Regions from separate parts of the Homo sapiens genome. Here region 1 is linked to region 2. Evidence: promoter capture Hi-C in human tissues and cell types (Jung and others, 2019). All regions are on one chromosome and are shown on one strand. Each heading gives the region's core, a stretch centred on a gene start or on the middle of the fragment in contact. The rest is flanking DNA. Distances are from core to core; before and after follow the strand shown.

What was found. Contacts are between HindIII fragments. The study calls those that stand out against the background at their distance.
Region 1: the fragment with the promoter of GCHFR here is called in contact with a fragment that was not itself captured in region 2 in 1 of the 25 tissues and cell types used here (thymus).

Annotation. Positions count from the first base shown.
Region 1 is chr15:40,761,308-40,765,317 of GRCh38, reverse strand. It overlaps GCHFR (GTP cyclohydrolase I feedback regulator), which reads right to left and starts at 1,250. Exons shown (of 3, transcript NM_005258.3): 1 at 1,102-1,250. The coding sequence starts at 1,137. DNAJC17 (DnaJ heat shock protein family (Hsp40) member C17) reads left to right here. Exons shown (of 11, transcript NM_018163.3): 11 at 1-157. RefSeq lists an enhancer at 705-1,570 and a silencer at 1,237-1,686. The HindIII fragment of the contact is 4,829 bases long and covers 1-4,010 here.
Region 2 is chr15:40,631,267-40,635,549 of GRCh38, reverse strand. The region is part of intron 13 of KNL1 (kinetochore scaffold 1); the gene reads right to left. Among named protein-coding and RNA genes, the nearest start is that of KNL1, 39 kb to the right of the region's middle. The HindIII fragment of the contact is 5,341 bases long and covers 351-4,283 here.

The DNA.
Region 1 (4,010 bases), core at 1-2,500, 130 kb before region 2:
TCCTTTTGGGGTATTAGAAATGTTCTAAAACTGATTATGGTGATGGTTGCACAACTCTGAGTACACTAAAGAAACAACAACACTGAATTGTACACTTTAAATCAAAGAATTTATGGTATGCACATTACATATCAATAAAGCCATATCTTTTAAGAAATAAGAATCACTTTGGGGGGCCATTTCCAAGTATGGGTTCCCAAGCCCCAGACAGAGTTTTAGGAGGTCTGGGAAGGGACCCAGGAATCCACATTTTGGCAGCTGAGCAGATGGCTGCTTCACAAACCGCTGCCCAGGGCTCTGCAAGAGCTCTCTGTTGCGTGGTGAACCCACCAAGGGGGTTGTGTACCCTTTGCTGGTTCACCCCAGCACTGGGCAGTGAGCAAGGGCAGAGAGCACCTTGCTGCCCGTCATGTCTTTCTGAAGCTAAAAGGGGACTCCTGAGGGGCAATCAGAACCTTTTTACAGATAAGGAAACTGCGCCCAGAGAAAGGAACGTGACTTCTAACTCATGGTGTTCCCACCTCTAACTGCACAGCCCCTTCTCGCCTTCCTTTTTTCCAAGCAGGGTGTTCTTTCTTTTCTTCCTTCCCTAAAGCTTCAGGGATAGCCCTTCCTGGAAGTGCCTAAGGGTGCAGCTAGTTGCTGTTTATGGGTCAAGGACTTGGCACCGGGGTTTTAGCGCCTTGGCAGGTCCTTATCTTTTCCAAACCTCTTTCTCTCAGGTTATTCGCCCTTTTTTCCCCTGCGGAGCGGCTCTGTGCAGGGCACTAGGTGCTGCGCGTGAGGCCAGGGCTCCCTGGGTCTCTCCCGCCGACAGGTAGGACAGGAGCCGGAAGCGCCCGGAGGTCGCCCTGTTGCCGGGACGCACGTACCCGGGCCCCTTCGCGGCAATAAAGGCTTCAGGCCGGCCAGAGCTCGCTGAGTCCCGGAAGCCGAGCTGAGCCCGCTTCTCCACTCCCTCTCCCCGGCCAAGGGGGCGTGTCTGGGCGGGTTCCCGGTCCAGTCCCCGGTGGGTGCAGCCCAGGAGGGAGGCATGAAGGTGCAGTCGCAGCCCCCTAGGGCCTGGTCCCGGCTCCAAGTCGCCAGGCGGCCGGTACTCACCATGCGGATCTGGGTGCTGATGAGCAGGTAGGGCATGGTGCACGCGTCCCGGCCTGGCTCCCACCGGGGGCTCTAGGCTGGACGCCGACTCCAGCCCTTCTCGCGTCGGGACTGCGACGCGCAGCTGGGAGTCCCGTTACTCCGGCTCTGGCCACAGGCGGCGTCAATCCCGGGGCACCTTGCCCGTGACCGCCGTGGCCGCCAATCAGGAGCGGCTGCCGTGACGCGCCCTGCAGTCGGCGGTTCGGGGCCCGCCCCCGCCCTCCCGGCGGCGGACTTGGACCCCGGGGCCCACCTGAGGCTTCCGCCGAGTGATCCAGTTGCGGGAAGGTGGAGTGCGGGGAGGAGGGGGCGGTCCCACGACCTGGAAGGACACTATCCTGAAGCTCCAGCGTCCTCCAGGACGCTTAGTGCTGTTTTCTTTGCAGCCTGTGATCTTACTGCGTCCCCGCGCGCGTGTTGCCCCCGCGCCCGCTTCTTGAACACTTCAGGCCAGGTTCCAAAGTCCCCTGCCAGGCAGAGCCCAGAGCAAACGGCGTCCTCACGGAGGCCTCTCCAGGCCCCAGCCCACCCCTCTCAGAGACGCCTCGACAGCTTCAACGGGGCCCCACTTCCCCTCGCCAAGACATGCGCTCCAGAGATTCCTTAAGCGCTGAGGAGGCCGGGGCACGAGGCTCGGAGCTAGCCCTGAAGGCGACAACTAAAATACCACCCAGGGCGCACTGTGCATTCCCCCTCCCAGACTCTAATTCCAGCACAGAGGCGGATCCTTGCATTTCTGTGGACCCGCAGGAAAGTCTGTAAAGGAACCGCGCGCTTGGCTGGGTGCCAGGTCTGGAGTGACTGAATGGATGGAACCTGGCCTTCCCTCCCCTGAGCTTCCCGCGCAGCTGGACAGACGCGGCGCACGCGCAGGAGGTCACTGGGCAACACCTGGGGCAAATGAAACAACTTCCCCCGCACCAGCCACCAATGAGCGGCTGCGAGTTCCCAACCGTGTGTCCACGCCCCTCATCCGCAGTTATCAAAATCTGACAACTCATCCTTCTTTATCTGCCTTGTTGTGATTGGTTTTCTTTTTTCTTTTCTTTTTTTTTTTTTTTTTTGGACATGGAGTTTCGCTCTTATTGTCCAGGCCGGAGCGCAATGGCGCGATCTCCGCTCACCGCAATCTCCGCCTCCCAGGTTCAAGCGATTATCCTGCCTCAGCCTCCTGAGTAGCTGGGATTACAGGCCTGCGCCACGACGCCCGGCTAATTTTGTATTTTTAGTAGAGACGGCGTTTCTCCATTTTGGTCAGGCTGGTGGCGAACTCCCGACCTCAGGTGATCCACCCGCCTTGGCCTCCCAAAGAGCTGGGATTACAGGCGTGAGCCACCGCATCCGGCCTGTGATTGGTTTTCTAGAAAATAAAGCAAAACAAAAACAGCCTGTAGGTAGCCTTCCCTCCCATGGGAGGGTAATAATCTTCACTTTTTAAGAGGGGCCTTTATAGGGGATGCTGCCGTTCCAACACTTTGACAGACGTGGAGAGAGCTATAAGGGAAGCAGGAAGTTGTAATCCTAAACGTTCCTTAACTGGTCTAATTTATTATTCTGTAGTTCCTACCCCTGCCCTCTTACCCACTGACCTAACAAGTTAGCCAGAGAGATAAAACACATTCATGCTTAACAAAGGATGTGTTAAAACTGACGAAAGGGCCGGGCGCGGTGGCTCACGCTGCTAATCCCAGAACTTTGGGAGGCCGAGGCGGGCGGATCACGAGGTCAGGAAATCGAGACCATCCTGGCTTAACACAGTGAAACCCCGTCTCTACTAAAAGTACAAAAAATTAGCCGGGCGTGGTGGGGGCCGCCTGTAGTTCCAGCTACTCGGGAGGCTGAGGCAGGAGAATGGCGTGAACCTGGGAGGCGGAGCTTGCAGTGAGCCGAGATTGGTTGGGCCACTGCACTCCAGCCTGGGGCAGAGCAATACTTCGTCTCAAAAAAAAAAAAAAAAAAAAAAACTAACAAAAGATTGATGCCCAGGAGCTCCTACAACTCAGTGAGAAAAAGATGAACAATGGAAAAAACAGGGGTAACTGACTTGAATAGGCCCTTCACAAAAGAGGAAATAGAAATGACCAATAAACATATAACATGATGCCTAGTATATCATTAGAAATACAGGAAATACAAATTAAAGTCAATTTTACTTTTTTTCATTTTAACCAAATTTATTTAAACCCCAAGACTTTGTAGACACAGTGGCTCACGCCTGTAATCTAAGCACTTTGGGAGGCCAAGGTGGGAGGATCGCTTGAGCCCAGAAGGTTGAGGCTGCAGTGAGCCATGATTTGGTTTATTTTTAAGTAATTTATCCCTACTTAAAGACAGATTACCCTACATGTGAAAGCTATGTACAAAAATCATCCACTGATTAGAAGGATTTTTTTAAGTTATACAATTGTCCTTGGTTTTTACAATGATAAATGAAAAACATTAAAATTCTTCAGTTGAATAAAGTATGGAAGGATTTTTATGTTGTCATTTTTTAGTTAAAACAGAGCAAAATATAACTCACTGGAATATAGAGACAAGAGCTGAGCCGGGCACGGTGGCTCATGCCTGTAATCCCAGCACTTTGGGAGGCCGAGGTGGGTGGATCACTTGAGTTCAGGAGTTCGAGACCAGCTTGGCTAACATGGTGAAACCCTGTCCTACTGAAAATACAAAAATTAGCTGGGCGTGGTGGCACACACCTGTAGTCCCAGCTACTCGGGAGGCTGAGGCAGGAGAATCGCTTGAACCAAGGAGGCAGAGGTTGCAGTGAGCTGAGATCATGCCACTGCACTTCAGCCTGGGTGACTGAGTGAGACTCTGTCTCAAAAAAAAAAAAAAGTCAGATGTGGTAGCACATGCCTGTAGTC
Region 2 (4,283 bases), core at 1,772-4,271:
AAACCCTGCCTCTACTAAAAATACAAAATTAGCCAGGCGTGGTGGTGTATGCCTGTAATCCTAGCTACTTGGGAGGCTGAGGCAGGAGAATCGCTTGAACCTGGGAGGCGGAGGTTGCGGTAAGCTGAGATCATGCCACCGCACTCCAGCCTGGGCAAGAAGAGTGAAATTCCATCTCAAAAAACAAATCCTGAAACAGGCCGGGCATGGTGGCTCAAGCCTGTAATCCCAGCACTTTGGGAGGCTGAGGTGGGCAGATCACGAGGTCAGGAGATCGAGACCATCCTGGCTAACACAGTGAAACCCTGTCTCTACTAAAAAAAAATACAAAAAATTAGTCGGGCATGGTGGCAGGTGCCTGTAGTCCCAGCTACTCGGGAGGCTGAGGCAGGAGAATGGCATGAACCCAGGAGGTGGAGGTTGCAGTGAGCCGAGATCGTGCCACTGCACTCCAGCCTGGATGACAAAGCGAAACTCCATCTCAAAAAAAAAAAAAAAATCCTGAAACAGATGCCCACAGCCACGAACCTCATTTTCCATGGTCCACATATAATCCATCTCTTTGGCCTTTTCCTATTTTGGGATTTTCAACTTCTTTCCCGAAGTACCCTGAACTCTTTCCATTTTGATAGGTTTGTTCCCAGATATATTTTCCTATCACTACCCCTCCTGACTTCAGCAAGACCTGGGAGGAAAGGGGAAGATTCATAACATCAATTTGTCAAGGATCAATTCCTAAAGCATCCTCTCCCTCCTTCACCCTGCCAATATCCTCCCTGTTCCTATCCTTCCCCTCTGCTCTCCTCTGTTTGGTCTTGGTCTCCTAATACTCTTTCTACTTTCCCTTTATAAGAAAAGTAGAAAGAGTATCAGCCCCTGGATGCACACCTAAGCTCCTTTCTCCTCCCTATCTATAGCTGAGGCAAGAGGATTCTACTGGCAGCTATCATGGTAATGAGGCTGAGGCCCAAAAGAGTTGTGTGCCCATCTTCCCAATTTCTATCCTTGATTTACCTTTCACATTCAAATATATAATTCTCCAGTAATTGATTTGTTTCTAAACAGCTTTATGGAGATATAATCCACACACAATGCAATCCATCCATTTAAGTATACAATTAAACGAATTTTAAAGTATATTCACGCACCAGGCGTGGTGGCTCATGCCTGTAATCCCAGCACTTTGGGAGGCTGAGGTGGGCGGGTCACGAGGTCAAGAGTTCGAGACCAGCCTGGCCAAAAGGGTGAAACCCTGTCTTTACTAAGAATACAAAAATTGGCCAGGTGTGGTGGCATGTGCCTGTAATCCCAGGTATTTGGGAGGCTGAGGCAGAAGAATCGCTTGAACCTGGGAGTCGGAGGTTGCAGTGAGCCAAGATCATGCCACTGCACTCCAGCCTGGGCAGTAAGAGAGAAACTCCATCTCAAAACAAACAAACAAACAAACAACAACAACAACAACAAAAACCTAAAATACAAACACACACATTAGCCTAGGCCTACACAGGGTCAAGATCATTAATATCACTGTCTTCCACCTCCACTTCTTGTCCTACTGGAAGGTCTTGAGAAATAATAACACCCATGGAGCTATCATCTCCTATGATAACAATGCCTTCTTTTGGAATAACTCCTGAAGGACTTGCCTGAGGCTGTTTTACAGTTAACTTGTTTTATTTATAAGTTGGAATATACTCTAAAATAACGATAAGGGCTGGGCATGGTGGCTTGCACCTGCAATCCCAGCACTTTGAGAGGCAAAATAGGATTGCTTGAGGCCAGGAATTTGAGACCAAGCCTGGTCAACATACCGAGACCCCATCTCTAAGAAATATTTAAAAATTAGCCAGGTGTGGTGGCTTGTGCATATAATCCTAGCTACTTGGGAGGCTGAGGCAAGAGAATCCCTTGAGCACAGGAGGTTGAAGCTGCAGTGAGCCAAGGTCACTGCACTCTGGCCTGGGTGACAAAGTGAGATTCTGGTTCAAAAAAATAAAATAACAATAAAGAGTATAGTATAGTAAATACATAAGACAGCAACCTAATGGTCTGTTATCATTATCAAGTATTATGTTACTGTACATAATTATATGTACTACCCTTTAACAGGAATGGCAGCGCAGGTTTGTTTACATTAGCATCACCACAAACATGTGAGTAATGTGTTGTGCTACATTACAATGTCACTAGGCAATAGGAATTTTCCAGCTCCATTACAATTTTTTTTTTTTTTTTTTTTGAGACAGAGTTTCGCTCTGTCGCCCAGGCTGGAGCGCAGTGGCGTGACCTCAGCTCACTGCAGCCTCCGCCTCCTGGGTTCAAGCGATTCAGTAGCTGGGACTCCAGGCACGCGCCATCATGCCTGGCTAACTTTTGTAATTTTTGTAGAGATGCGGTTTCACCATGTTGGCCAGGCTGGTCTCAAACTCCTGGCCTCAAATGACCCACCTGCCTTGGCCTCCCAAAGCACTGGAATTATAGGTGTGAGCCACGATGCCTGGCCTCCATAAAAATCCTATGGGACCCCCTGTGTATATGTGGTCCGTTGTTAACCAAAACGTCCTTACGCAGTACATGACTGTTCTTTGGAAAAATATCTTTTCAGATCCTTTGATCATTTTTAAATTGGGTCGTATTTTATTTATTTATTTAAATAGAGACAGAGTCTCACTATGTTTTATTTATTTATTTAAATAGAGATGGGGTCTCACTATGTTGCCCAGGCTGGTCTCAAACTCCTGAGCTCAAGCAATCCTCTAGTCTAGGCCCCTCAAAGTGCTAAGATTACAGGCATGAGCTACCAAGCCAGGCCTAAATTGGATTGTATTTTTATTATTGAGTTGTAAGAGTTCTTTATATATTTTGGATAAAGCTTCTTATCAGATGTATGATTTCAACTGTTTTCTCACATTCTGTGGGTTGCCTTTTCACTTTCTTCGTTTTTTTTTGAGACAGGGTCCGGCTCTATCTCCAAGGCTGGAGTGCAGTGGTACAATCTTGGCTCCTTGCAAGTTCTGCCTGTTGGGCTCAAGTCATACTCCCACTTCAGCCTCCCGAGTAGCTGGGACTACAGGCACATGCTACCAGGCCTGGCTAATTATTTCATTTTGTACAGGATTTCACCTGTTGCCTGGTCTGGTCTCAAATTCCTAGGGTCAAGCAATCCTCCTGCCTCTGCCTCCCAAAGTGTTGGGATTACAGATGTGAGCCATGGCACCCAACAAAAAATTATTTTAGTCTCTTTTAATCTATGAGTACGTTTTCTTTCTTAATCTTCTATATTTTAGCTTTCTCTTTTTTCATTCACTTATTTAATTAAAAGATGTGGGTGGGGGGGGGTCTCGCTATGTTGCCCAGGCTGGTCTTGAACTCTTGGTTTCAAGTGATCTTCCCTCCTCAGCCTCCCACATAGCTAGAATTACAGACACCAGCCACTGTGCGCAGCTGCTTATTTCTTCTTAATTAGACTCTTCAGGAGTTTTCTTATTTTATTGTCTTTTCAAAGTATAGCTTTTGGATTTATTCTTTTTTTTTTTTTTTTGAGATAGGGTCTTGTTCTGTTGACCAGGCTGGAGGGCAGTGGTACAATCATAGCTCACTGCAGCCTTGAACCCCTGGGCTCAAGAGATCCTCCCATGACAGCCTCCTGAGTAGTTGGGACCACAGGCACAGGCCACTACACTTGGCTAATTTTAAAATTTTCTGTAGAAACAGGGTCTCCCTATTTTCCCGAGGCTGGTCTCAAACTCCTGAGCTCAAGCATTCCTCTCGCCTTGGTCTCTCAAAGTGCTGAAATTACAGGTGTGAGCCACCATGCCTGGCCTGGATTTATCCTCTCCAACAATTTTTGTTTTCTATTTCATTAGCTCTACTTTTTACCTATATTAATTCTATCTTCCTATCTTTTTTGTGGATATTATGAGTATTAATATCTTGGCTGGGCACGGTGGCTCATGCCTGTAATCCTAGCACTTTAGGAGGCCAAGGTGGGTGGACTGCTTAAGCCCAGGAGCTCAAGACCAGTCTGGGCAACATAGCAAGATCTCGTCTCTAAAAATAAAAAATAAATAAATAAAAATTTCTTTAATTTTAGACTCCACGACAACAAAGATATCTAAGGCTTTTAATTCCTGCTAAGTATAGCTTTTGCTGTATGTCCCACAGACTAGCCATTAAATATTCTCCTTTACTAAGAAATATTTTCGACTTCTTTGATCTAGGAGTTATCTAGAAGTGTTTCCTGTTTTTTTTTTACCCAACTATGTTGTCTACAACAGCAGTCC